2 separate regions of the Homo sapiens genome follow, and region 1 is linked to region 2. The links are contacts of gene promoters, found by promoter capture Hi-C in human tissues and cell types (Jung and others, 2019). All regions are on one chromosome and are shown on one strand. The core of a region is centred on a gene start or on the middle of the fragment in contact, and the rest is flanking DNA. Distances in the headings are between cores, read along the strand shown.

Evidence for each region. The method cuts DNA at HindIII sites, captures the fragments that hold promoters and counts their contacts. A contact is called where the count stands out against the background at its distance.
Region 1: a fragment that was not itself captured here is called in contact with the fragment with the promoter of PARD3B in region 2 in 1 of the 25 tissues and cell types used here (IMR-90 fibroblasts).

What each region holds. Positions count from the first base shown.
Region 1 is chr2:204,687,878-204,694,661 of GRCh38, forward strand. All of the region lies in intron 2 of PARD3B (par-3 family cell polarity regulator beta), which reads left to right. Among named protein-coding and RNA genes, the nearest start is that of PARD3B, 150 kb to the left of the region's middle. The HindIII fragment of the contact is 4,065 bases long and covers 3,269-6,784 here.
Region 2 is chr2:204,543,516-204,550,755 of GRCh38, forward strand. PARD3B (par-3 family cell polarity regulator beta) reads left to right here and starts at 1,960. Exons shown (of 23, transcript NM_001302769.2): 1 at 1,960-2,604. The coding sequence starts at 2,485. RefSeq lists a silencer at 1,947-1,996. The HindIII fragment of the contact is 11,144 bases long and covers 1-7,240 here.

The sequences.
Region 1 (6,784 bases), core at 4,051-6,550, 150 kb after region 2:
TGTCTTACCCCAGCTTCATCCAATACCTCATTACTAGAAGGATAAGTCCATGAACAGTGCCCAGGGAGATAATTTGTCCCATAGAGCTCTCACATTTAGAGCATTCTTTTAAACTATCTCAGCAATGCAGTTTATAACCATAATCCACTTACTACACACAGAAACAGCTTTATTATATGTAATCTCTGTTTTAATGGGACTCTACCACCATTACTAAATAAGGTAAAAAAGTGAGATAATCAGTTAAAATCCTAGCTGAGGATTAGTACTGCTTGGGTTCGGCTTTAACAATTCTGTTAATGTACTTCAATATTTCTACATGATGCCTAATTGGTATTGTTCTGCAGAGTTTATGACAATTTATACTTTTGATGTTGCTAGAAAAAATTGTGTTGCCATTTCTTCTTCTTAAAAAATACGTAAGTGGCACGGTGGCTCATGCCTGTAATCCTAGCACTTTGGGAGGCTAAGGTGGGTGGATCACGAGGTCAGGAGATCAGGATCATCCTGGCTAACACAGTGAAACCCCATCTCTACTAAAAATACAAAAAAATTACACAGGAGTGGTGGCATGCACCTGTAATCCCAGCTACTCAGGAGGCTGAGGCACGAGAATCAATTCAACCCAGGAGGCAGAGGTTGCAGTGAGCCAAGATCACACCAGTGCAGGCCAGCCTGGGTGACAGAGCAAGACTCCATCTAAAAAAAAAAAAAAAAAAAGGTGAAAAAAAGAATTTCTTATTTTTCTGACAACCTTGGTAATCTTAAGATTTCTTTATAGTCCATATGTCTATTGTGGAAAGAAGGCCCTGCCAAATTTCATTTTACCTTACTTTTTGGCAGTTTAGATTAAGAAGTAACTATAAGTGATGCTTTGTGGATGCTTAATGACATATCAGTCTCACTCAGGATCCTTTGAGGCGGTATTGAGCTTAGACAAAATAACAGTTCACCTGTTTGCAAATTGGCTACCTAATAATCTTTGGCATTTAAAATGTGGATAGAGAACAAGTCCAAAGAGGCACGGATAGATGCACATAATCATTGTGCTAACCCCAAAATATCTCACCTCCTAGGAAAGACTCTCACTCCAGGTGAGAAGTGGCATTAAGGAACTGTTGGTCTATTGCAGCATATCAGGCAGGAAAAACAGAAACTTAGAAAGCAGGGGAGGCTGGGCCATTTAGTGTATGGTAACACCATCCCATACACTTCAGTAAAGGTAGAAACTAGAGGTTAAATGATATTGTACTTCAAATTAGAGAAGGCTCTAACAAAGTTCAGCCAGTGTTCTTAAGAAATGACTTTTAAAACTTGTGCCTAAAGTGGTTTGTCTGTGGTCTTACTTCTATTATTCCTTTGGCCAACATAGTGCTTGGCGCATACATGGTATCTGCTTGGGAGCTTTGGTTTTTTAAACTTGCTTTCCTAGTACAGCTTCCACGGGGACCAAGTCTCCACTGTGTTACACTACTTCTAGCCTATATGTGTCAAAATATTATTGGAACAGCTTTGGAATATTGCATCTTATGATAACTATTTGTATAAAATGTTGTGCTGAAACTTAATAATTATCTGGTTGTGACAGTTATTCTCAAGATTCTTCAGTTTGTCTATCAGTCTGATGATTCGAGTTCTTTGGGATAAATATCTAAGAATTGTAATTTTACACTCATGTCTCCTCTCTGGTTGCTAAAGGCTACCAACTTAGTTCACCCAATAGTAACAACCTAATCATTGATGACTAGCAATGGCCCAGAATGTCTTTGGCCCTTATTTATTCTACGTTATTTTAAAGCAATCCTGAAGACAAGAGCTAGTGTTATCCCTATTTTTAATTTCCAGAATAATCACAGAAATTGTAAGTAACTTGCCCAAGATCACACAGGTAGTAAATGGCACAATCAGACTCTGGAACCTAGAATTTAAATTTCTGTAATCTTATTTCTTTTCTTCTCTGATGTGTCAAGCAGTTTGGCGCTTGTATCTATAATTTCTATTACGAAAATTCATCAGTCATAAATTAACATGAATTTTGCTTTTACGTAGTCACCACCATTGCTAAGAAAAGGTTGGTAATAGACCAAACTGTTGAGTATAACAAAACAGTTGAGTATACAATTTATTTATAAATTAATTCAGAATTAATATGCCATACATATTTAATATATTTCAACCCTGTTTGCCTATAGCCTGCATCTAGTTTATTGTAAAGGCTTGTCAGCTCTACCTCTGTTGCTTTCTTTTGCATCCTCTTTTCTCTAGGACCCAGATTATTTGATTTAGATACAGTTTAATTTCAGTTGGACGCTTTAGACTGCACTTGAAGTCTAACCACCATATGCAATTACAAAGAAAAACAAGTTTGTATTACAGTAACTACTTTTTTGCACCAACTATAGACTGTGCTGTTTTCAGTAGGCAGAGTAATGGCGCCTCAAAAATGTCTACTCCCTAATCTCTACAACCTGTGAATATGAATGTTACATGACACAGCGTCTTTGCAGATGTGCTTAAGGATCTTAAAATGGAGAGATTATTCTGGATTATTTGGATGGACCCAATGTAGTCACAAGCATCCTTATAAATGAAAGAAGAAGGCAGGAGAGTATTAGAGAGATAAATGTGAGAAAGACACACCCAGCCAATGCCAGCTGTGAAGATGGAGAAGGTGCCACCAGCGAAGAATGTAGCTGGCCTCTGACATTGGAATCAGTAAGGGAATGGATTCTCCCCTAAAGCCTCCAGAGAGAACACAGTCCTGCTGATACCTTGATTTTAGCCCAGTGAGACTTGTTTCAGATTTCTTAACTGTCAGATAATAAATTTGTGATGTTTTAAGCCATTGCATTTGTGGTGACTTGCTACAGCAGCAATAGGACACTAATACATACACTGCCTCTTTTCCCATTTTAACTTTTAAAGTGATGTTAGTCTTCTCAAATTTCATATTGACTGGGCATTGAGATCCTGCAGGATGAGATAAATGCTTTGTACTTCAGATGGGTTCCTTGTTCTTTGCCTTCCTCCCAAAGTCCATCACAAATGATCCTCAGTTTATTGGGTGAGCCTTCACTCTTTGAGACTTGATCTTTAAATATCTAATTATGCTGTTATCGTCTATAGTGTAGAAATTATTTCAAAGTCACAGACAAACAGCCTTGTTCACTTATCAGTTTCTCGCTGCAGTATGTAAAGGCCCTAAGAAGTCTGAAGACTGATGCTTAGTAAACCACTGCAAAGCTTAATGCTTCCTTCCTTTTAAGTGAGCATGAGAGCTTCTGAGTATTAAGCTTTTTAAAATGATTATTTTCTTTGGTAATTGCCATTATTAATTTTTGGCTGGGTTGAAGAAGACAACTGCAATATAACATGAAAACATGGCAGTCTATCACATCTATTATATAAAGTCAATTACTGCCATGGTTTCATTAACTGTACAAAAGTAATACTGTATTATGTAGTAAAGTAACATGGAAAGATGCCTCTGTTCTTGACTAAATTTTGCCTATCCTAGGGGGCTAGTTTGGAGAGATGCCAGTGGTTTTCAGGGCTTCCAAGTGAATTGCCCACTGGATCACATGTGATATCTGGTATTCAAATGTTATAATTTCAGTTCAGTTTTATCTCCTATTAGTTATCAGTCCTTGGGCAAGCTTCTTCATCTCTCTGGTCTTGGTTTCCCCATTTGTAAAATGAATATAATGTTCTTACAGGGTTGGTGTAGGAAAACTAGGTAGGTAAACTATATAAAATTTTAAGTATAGTATAGCATATACTGAGAACTCAAATGCTGTTATATTAATGATACTATGGTAGTGCTATTACAGTATTTTTAATGTAGGTGTTTTGATGTTACCATTAGATGTTTTTAGGTATTTAAACATCAAATAAACTATTTTACTGTATATTTTAACTGCTTTTTAAACAAAACTGATATGAATGAAGTTATTAAATTGGTAAAATAGTTTTATAAGAAGATATTGAATATGACAGAACATTTGGATTAATATATTGTTATTATTTGCGAAATGAAAATGCCAGTATGATTAAACTGGAAATGAGAATCCTTTTATCAGAACATATTATTTGGTAACATAAGGAGCATTTGGAGATGTAACATGATTTTAAAATGGAGACTGGTTTGCGCAATGCTGCATGAACTAGTGACCTAAAGCCAGGCTCTTTATTCTTAAGCCAAATTGCTTTCTGAACACTCTGTTGCCCTCTAGTGGGTCCACAGTTACCTAGAAACCAGCTCACAGGAGCTACTTCCTGAACAGGATGAAGTATTTTGTTCTACTTTATTTGAAAATAATTTTTGCTATGTTTTTTGTTACAACTCACAGACTCAGGCATGGAGAATAAAGCCAGAGTTTGCATATATTTCCCTGTGCTTTTGTGCATCTTCTAGTAAGGGCTAAAGGAAATTCCTTGCATTTATAAAAACTCCTCTTTTAAATTTATTTTTAAATTTAGACTTCTTCCCGCCTACCTGTTTGCTGGCTGAAAGATTAATGGCTGGTGGTGATGAAGTGTGTAACTTATTCAGTCTGTAGTTGGACAATCTATGAAGTATATTGTGTTTTCTGGAGAAGGAGAATGCTAAATTAAGTTAAACAGCTTTTTTTTTTTTAAAGGTCCTGATTTATTTCATTTCTTAGCCCTCATTTTATCAGTAAGATTTCCATCGCAAGCTAAAGTACCTATTTTAAAGCCACAATTAAAAGAAAAACAAATCAGGATATGATGTGTTTTTGTTTTTCCTTCAAAAAGTCTTACTTTGGTTCATGGGAGTTGATGTTATAAAAGCACAAAAGCACATAGAAGAAGTTTGGAGAAGGTTTCAGAAATAAATGCAGAAGCTCCTGAAGAACAAATGAATTACCTTGGTCATGAAATTTTAGCTCAGAATTTTCAAGATTACTCTCCGCTTATAGAATTACAAAATTGTAGAATCATGGATCCAAACAAGACCTCAACAGTCATGTGGATTAAACTCATCATCTTTCAAAAGAGGAAATATCCTACCCAGGAAGAGGTTATAGAACACGATGTCTGTAGCTGATTTAGTTCCTGAGTCCATTTCTGCATTTCCTCCCTAGGATGCTGATAACATCTCATGCAGATCAAAACTACTCAGTTTGAAGTTGGCTTCCTCCATTGACATCCTTGTTTTTGTTGGTTAGTTTCAAGTTGGCTTCTTCCATTGACATCCTTGTTTTTGTTGGTTAGGAGCACCTTCTCCTAGTCTCCCAGACTTGAACTTGCAGTTATTTTAAAAATTTAGTTATTTAATAAAGCCAATTTATTCTTTCCTTTATCCTTTCCCATATGTTTGTTTTTGTCTTTGAATTTCCACAGCTACCAAATTTATATCCATAATATTTCAGGCCAAGGTTACTGTAATTGACAAGAAATTGGTCGTCTTGTTTTTAGTCTCTTCCTTACCTGTCAGCTGTTTTTGTGCCTCGTATGTAGGCAGAATGGTTAAGATCTTGGATTCTGGACAAAAAAGTCAGTTCATTTCTTGGCCCTGTTATTTGTCTAGTTTTGTCCAAGTTGCTAAACCTCTTTGTGCCTTAGTTTCATCATGGATAAGTGGAACTAAAAATAGTACTAATTATGTAAGTTAACACGAAGTGTTCAGGAGAGCACCTGGCCTGTAGTAAGTCATCAATTGTTATTGTAATTAACACACTATTAATAATGTAAATTACATTATTTAAAAAGTATTGCTTAAATCATATTGTTCCTTTTAGTGTATACTGCATCAAGTCCAAACTTTGTAGCCATTTAGAGGCCTCACAATGCCTCCAAACTTTCTCTAAACCCACTTCAACCGCAGTGGTGGCGAAACTACTGTACGATTTATTATGTATCATGGACTTTCTAGCTCCAAAGCTTTTTTTCTTAATGTTCCGGTTGTCTGCTATATCCTTGTCCCTATTTCCTGCCCATCGAAGATTCAGTTTATGTTGTATTTTGTATTATTCAATATTAGCTCCATGAGGAGGGGGTCTTTGCTTTATTCACTGCTGTATTCCCAGTGCCTGCAGCAGTGCCTGGCATTTCCTAGCTGTTCAAATAATTACAGTCAATGAATGAACGTATGCTTTGAGGTTTTGAATAAGCCATTCAACCACTTGTAACTCCAGTTTTTCCATTGGTAAAATGAGAGTGATAAATGATATCGTTCACATCGTATTATTGGGAAGGTTGAAAAAGTGTGCAGGAAAATACAATGGAAATTACAAAGCACTATATACGTGTAAAAAATGTATCTATTCCTGCTGTTCAGTTCTTATGAATTTTTCAAGATCAAGGTGAAATTGTATTTTATCCCAGTCAACATTTGTAAATCATCTCAATCTAAAGTAAATCCTCTGTGCTCTGAAATTTTATAGAAACGATTAAGTGGTCTTTTTTTCTTTTTCAAATGTTATTGGCTAGTAACATTTACCACTTACCATCTCGAAGTTCTTAAGAATTTTATTGTTTAACTTTTTAAGTCTTGGTTTGTCTGTCCAGGTGTCTTGTGTGCTGTTTTAGGACTGGGATGATTGTTTAAAATATTTTTTAGCCCATAGACTTCTTACCTGTAGTTCAGTGTTTCATAAACATGTTTAATTTTAGTTAGTGATAGAGTGGGAACTAGAATTGAAGATTTCTAATTGACTACCTTTTTCTTCCACCAAACTACGTTGTCTCTTTGAAATATTTTATTAGGAGACAGTTTGTGGGCATGTTTCAACCTCAGAGAAGAATTTTGGAATCAATGCCT
Region 2 (7,240 bases), core at 710-3,209:
CCGATTCCAACTTCCCAAGTGGAACTGGGAGAGCCGGAGTGTTCTTTATGGTTCACTTGGGGATTATCAAAGCCAGGACTTGGGGTGGGAGGTTCTAGATATTGGGAAGGAGCTAAAGCTGGGCTAAGAGGGAATTTGTGGCGAAGAGGAGGAGCTATTCATGACCCAAGCAGAAGAAAATGAGTCTGGAGCAACTGTAAAGCAAAAAGCCACGATGCAGGAAGGATGGCAACATGCAAAGTTATTTCATCAGTGGAAAATCTTTGCTCTGTACCATTCTATAGGTCCATGAAATACCGAATATTAAAAGTGAGGGCCACACATTAATGCACGGCATCAGTATCTATTTGTTTGTTTGATTCACTCATTGGTACTTCTCATGTAAGAAACAGCACAGCAGTTACGATGAAGACTCTGGAATCAGATGACCTGGGTTTTAAGCCAGCCTCTGCTACTTTCTAAGAATGAGATTTTAACTAAATCATTTAACTTCCTTTGGCCTCAGCTCCTCATCTCTAAAAAGAGGATAAAGTGTCTCCTTTGAAGAGAGCTGGCCTGAGAATGGAGACCACACTGAGGAACAGATAGAGCTAAGAGCTGGACAGAGCTAGCTGGCCCCTGAGGACATAGTTTGAGTTCCTGCTTTCAACCTTGCCTCAATGGAGTGCCCTCTGGATCTTCTGATTTTATGAGGTGATCAATTCTGTCTTTGGTTTATTTAAATGTAAATTAGTTTGTATTGGATTTACAACCAAATTACAATGGACTTGGTTTACGTGATCCTCTTGGTTTGCCACTGACTTTCTATACATAGAAGACAACCAATATATACTTACTGAATGTATGAATGAGCTAAAATTTATTTTTTTAAAAAACCTCTTGAAACCCATGAATTTAATCTCCTCTGCATTATCATACCATCCTAGGCAATTCACGTTCAATTTAAGTGTGTCCACATAGGAGCACATCCTTCTGTAGAGAAACACATGATGCAGCCCTGAGGGTCTTGCTGGATGAACTGGATGGCTAAGAAAACTGCAGGGAGAGACCAGAGATTGAGCTCAGAAGACCTGAGTTCTTTTCAACAGAACTAACACCATGGTCTGCTCAGTCTCTTGACCTCTCCGAGCACCATTCTTGATGCACAAGATGCGAAGAATAATATCTACCTACCGGGTAGTTGTTAAGCTCAAAGGAGCTCATTTACATGAGAGCTAAGAATGAAACTAACGTAATTTGTTGGTTTCCCCCACATATTCCCATTTCAATTGGTGATGGATACACACCTGCCAAATCATGAGCCTAAGGGTGTTAACTTTTTTTTTTCCTAATAAAATGCACAACGGTAGTCGCATTCCAGAAGGCTATGTGTCAACACACGCGATCATATCTGGGTCTTGGGTGTGACCTTTGGCCAAATACTCAGTGTCCTCGAGGGTCTGTAAAAGGAAAAGTTTCCACTGGCGCGTTCTCTCCAAGGTTCGCTTCAGCTCTGCTATCCCAGGGCTCCTGATGGCAGCGGCACGGGCTGTGCTTAAGGCGAGTTCCTAACAGGCCCTCGGGGCACTCCTGCATCTCCGCACCCGGCAGCCTCGCCCCTTGGGTGTTTTTGGTGGGCGTGACTAGAAGCACCTGCTCCTGGGCTCCTTTTGCATCTTGCTGCAGTCCCCTCCTGTGAAGGGCGCAGCTCTGCAGTCTCCTCGCTCTTCCCTCGGGTGTTCTTTCTGAGATCCGGTTTCAATCCTCGAGCGTGTAGCCCTCAGGTCCCCTTACAACTCCCCAGAGCTCCGTGTGCATGCGTGCGAGAGGGAGAGAGCCAGGGAGAGACCCAGGTGACGAGACGAGGCTCCCGGGCTCCAGTTACTGGCCCGCAGGGCCGGGGCACGTCGTCGCCCAGCGTGCGGCGGGGCCCGGGAGCGCCGCGGCCCCTTTAAGAGCCGGGCCCAGGCCGTCGCCGGGACCGCAGGAGCCCAGAGCGCGGGCGCCGCAGAGGAGTTGGGAGCCGGCGCAAAAGTTTCCTCCCAACTCTGGCCCCGTGCGCCGCCGCCGCCGCCGCCCACTCCAGCCCCCGGCTTGGGGCCGGCCCTGCCAACGCCGCCAGGGCCAGGGCCAGGGCCAGGACCAGCGACAGGGCAGGGCCGGCAGTTTCGCTTTGGTGGGCGCGGAGCAGCCGCCTGGGCCGGGCAGGAGTAGGAGCGGGAGGAGGAGGAGGAGGAGCCGGTGCCGCGGAGCTGCCGCGTCCCGGGCCGCCGGGCACCTGGGAGGTAACCCCTTTCCGCGGCCGCCCCTCCCCGATTCCCGCCACCTGCCGCCTGGCCAGGTGGAAGGGGCGCTGCCGCGAGCCTCCGGGCCTCAGGGTGTTCCGGGGAGCGGCGCCCCGGGTCTCTGGGCCCACCCGCCCCGGGCGTCCTCCGAGAGTGGGGGCTGCGCCCGCGGGGTCAGACACCTGTTCGGCCCGGCCCGGCGTGGTCGCCGGGGGCCAGGATGAAAGTGACCGTGTGCTTCGGCAGGACGGGCATCGTGGTGCCCTGCAAGGAGGGCCAGCTGCGCGTCGGCGAGCTCACCCAGCAGGCGCTGCAGCGGTACCTGAAGACCCGGGAGAAGGTGAGCGCGGCGCGGAGGAGTGGGGCGCGGCTGCAGCCAAGGCACCTGCCAGGTGCGACCCGGTGGCGACACTCAGGGGATGCAGAAAACCCAGGGGATTATGGGGCACTGCCTGTAGCTGCAGCTGTTGTCTATTGCTAATATCAGTGATGTGGGTGTCTTTGGGTGTTTGTGGGCCTTGAGCTCCGAGGGTCGTGAGTGGACCTGCAGCATTGGAATCTCTTGGGAGCTTCTTAGAACTGCCCAATATGGGCAGTTCTCCAAACCCACCGACTCAGGATCTGCTCTTTAACGAGATCCCCAGGTGATTGGAATGCCCACTGAAGTTTGAGAACCACTGGTTTAGAACTTGTTTGAGGGAACGTCTTAAAAGGTGCTGCTCACCTAAGTGTGATTTTTGACCCATTAAGGCCCGCCTCACTTAGGCTCCTTGGAGTTAGAAAGTTGATTGTGCAAGTGACACATACTCGGAAGTTACAACTGATGGGGCCTTTGGAGTTTCAGCCTTGTGAGCTGCCCTGTCTCAGTGACTTGGGCAGGAACACAGGTGGGAGCATGCTGTTTGCTTAGCCAACCTGTCTACATTTTGAGTGTTTTCAGTTTAATGTCACAGATTCTATGACCATTTACTATGTGTGTGGGCTGTTGTCAGGTCCTGAGTGACTATTAAAATGAGAAAGACGTTCCTAGCTCTGTAGCTGAAGTCAGGAACAAGTATAAATTAAGTGACAATTTTTTTTAAGTGTGCAATACATGTTGAGAAAATATCTGGCACTAGAACTTATGCCAAGTATTTGGGTAACATTGGGCCTCTGGGACTTCCTCAGTGAAACTTTTAAAGGAAGGCATTGAATAACCTTTTAATTTTTTGAATCTTCACATGGAACATTTTGTATGTCCCAAATGCTCCTCAAACAGGGCAAGTCACAAATTCTTGTTTTAGCGGCCAATGGTTCTCTTAATATTTGGTCTCGTGCCATGTGACTAAAATAGTGGGTTGGTCAATCTAGTGATGGAAAAACGTAAGTTTTAATTTCTTTTAACTTCTTATCGGTTATCCAAAGCATAAAAGTAATTGTTTCTTACAAGTGTATAGCTTAGGGGTTTAAGAAAATACTTGCACCTTCTTTGCCTCCATGAAGAATTATTATACAGAAAAAAAATTCAGCTCTGGACAGATACATGTGCATATTGCTTTGGATACTCAAGAACTGGAGGAGAGTACAATGAAAGGTCTATTAATATATTAAATATAACCCCTAAAGATGAACTCTTTACTGATGGAATTGAGGTGGAGGAGGGAAAAAATTAAAGTGGTTTATAAAGCTGTGTGAAAATCAACTGCAATGTTATGTGTGTGTGTGCACGTGCATATGTGTTTGCCATTGTTAAAATAGTGTTTGCTGTTTAAATCATGTAATTCAGTTAACTGATGTTTAAACAAGTAACCAATTGTCTATTAAATCATATTTCACTAACTTTTGAAAGTGAGCTAAGATTAATAGTAACAACATTACTCCAGACAGATTATTGAAATAGATCTCATTGAGGGATTGTCTTACCAAATTGAAGTTACTTTTTAACTATTAAATAATTTATGCCCTCAAATCTTGTATATTTAGAAGTTTAGTACAGGGGGCTATCCAAGTAAGAGATAAACTACAAGCTTGTAAATAACATGAAGAGAACTAACCAGCTGATATTTAATTCACTATAATTTGATCTTAAAAGGTGTTAAAATATTGACATTCTGGAATGGAAACGTAACTTATAATATCACAGAACAATGTAGTTGCATTGATCAGTTTACTATTATTACCAGACTTATATTTTTCTGTTTACATTTATATATTAGTGAATGTGACATTTAAAGGTCACCTGCAGCATATAAATCCTTCCTCTTATTTTCACTTTTAAAATTTCATTTTAAGAAGTAGTAGGTGATGATTTTTCCCCTCCCCAAGTATTCTTCTCCCATAGTTTTATTTTAAATAATATTGTAATCATAACAAGATTTAACGAATATTAAATCGTATTCATAATGGCACTAAAAGGTCAATAAATACCCTAACAAATTCCATGCTTTTATTCATTTTTTTTAAATGAGAAAAGGCCAGAAATGTCAAAATTCAATTTGAAAAACAATGTGTAGTAAATTCACTTTCTGTAAATCAGTGAATTTCTGCACTTCGTAATAATAATCACACTAACATGTAACATGTATTGTGCTTATTCTGTGCAGGCCCTGTTTTAGGAACTTCATGCTTATGACTTATTTCTCCCAACAACCTTAGGAGATAGGTACTATTATTATCCCCATTTTACAAATCAGGGGAAAAAGAGACACAGAGACATGACAAGTAAGTCGTAGATTTGGGTTTAGAAACCAGGAACTGTGTCTTTAGATGTTTGCTCTCAGCCATTAACTGCATAGCCTAGTACTATGTATGTTGTTATGAATTGGAATTTATCCATATTGTTTGTTTTTTAATGCTTGATTTAAAAAGACATTTCCATCTACTAACTGCTATATCACATCAACCTAAAAATAGCAATTTTGCTTCTGGAATAGTGATGGGATATCCACAAGTTTCTCTTAATTATATATTTTATGAGGTCTACATGTAGAAAATCTAGTTTCTGAGGCAAATATTGTAGGATTTGCAAATCAACTATGAAAAATATTCCTCAGTCTAACTACAAATGGGAAAATGGGCAAGATCTTAGACATCCAGGTGGCGAGTGCTATAAAGAACCAAATTTGGTGGGAACATGAATGTAAAGTAAGTCCATTATTTTCTGAGGCACTGAGTAATGTAGATGGGAGAAAGACAGGTTTCAAGATTGAGGATGAAGTTGAGGTTTCTAAAGTTTGGAAAGTAAGTGAAGTCCAAGAATGCCATTCTATATTTCGTGGACAGCGTCTGAGAAGTAACCACTACCTGTTGAGAACAAAGAAAACCTATTTGTGGAATGTTGGGAACCCCCTGAATCAACATCAGATAAGGCCAGAGGTTGATGCGATCCTGAAGATACAGGGGGAGCTTTTGGGAAGGCTTTAATTATGCTCTGAAGTCTGGGCCTTTGAGGTTCCTGCCACCATTTGATGAACTCCATTGGAAACGTGGTGGACTGAGAGGTGAGAACTGTGGGATTGCTTATCTCCGAATCCTGACACTTTATCAGTGTCCCAGCCTCCAAATCCAATTTAGTGAAGTTGTTAGTGGAGAAGTGATTGTCTTCTTATGTGCTTATGGTGGGGATCGTTGAGTAATTAGTTAAATTTATCATCAAAATTATGTGTCACAGGTGAATGGGTAATTGAGCTGTATCCTGCAGGGACTCTCAACCCTGGCTGAACTTCAGTAACCTCTAATTTTCACATTAAACATTTTAAACATTACAAATACCTGTGTCCCTTCCCCCAAGATTCTCATTCATTGGGTTAGGAGTGGGTCCTGGGCATAGGTATTTTAAAAAGCACTCCAGGTGATTCTAATGCCCAGCCAAGGTTGAGAATCACTAATCTACTCTAATCTTTTCGTATGGCTGAACTCATTGGATTTTAAACTCTTTTGATGGCAGATACTGTGTCTTAGATATCTACACACCAATCTGTTATTAAGCAACAGAATAAGCACAATACATGTTATTTGTTAATGGGATTATTATTATGAAGTGCAGGGCTTAAAACCTTGCTGTCTAGGGATTCAAACCTTTTAAGTGTCTTTCACTGATTTACAGAAAGTGAATTTATTACACATTGTTTTTCAAAATGAATTTTGACATTTCTGGCCTTTTCTCATTAAAAAAAAACAAACAAATAAAAGCATGGAATTTGTTAGAGTATTTATTGACCTTTTAGTGCCATTAGGAATACTCCTACTCCTACCCTTAAAGAATTCTTCCTATAGAAGGTGCTCAAATAATTGCTTAAAGTGAACATTCATTTTATATAGACAGTTGTCCCTTAGTATCCATAGGGGATTGATTCCAGGACTTCCCTCGGATACCAAAATCTGCAGATGCTCAAGTTCCTGATATAAAATGCTGCAGTGTTTGCATGTAATCTACACACATCCTCCTGTATACTTTAAGTCATCTCTAGATTATTTATAATACCTAATACAATGTAAAAGCTATTTAAACAGTTGTTATACTATACTGTTTAGGGAATAGTGACAAGAAAATTGTGTGTGTGTGTTCAGTACACGTAGTTTTTTTTCTAAATATTTTTGATCTGGGGTTTGGTTGAATCCGCAGATGCGGAATGCATGGATGCGGAGGGCTGACTGTGTGTGTGTGTGTGTGTGTGTGTGTGTGTGTGTGTATTCACTGAGGATGAAGTGAATAAGGGAAAGGCTTGTCTAGTAATGAGGATGTATAGTGTGTTCTGGGGTTGGAATGAATGAGAAATAAGAGCATTGAATTCGTGGAATAGCAGGCATGCTGGAATTTACAAAGGCCAATTTGTGGCTCTGACTGCGTATGTGAGTACACCCTTTTTTGGAAAGGAAAAATTATATTTGATAGGGTTTTCAAGATGAATCTTTTCTGTATTCAGATATTTTGAATAATATGTTTGTTTTACAAGTTGAGGCAGCTTCCCAGAACTGGGAGTAGTCTGATTAGACTA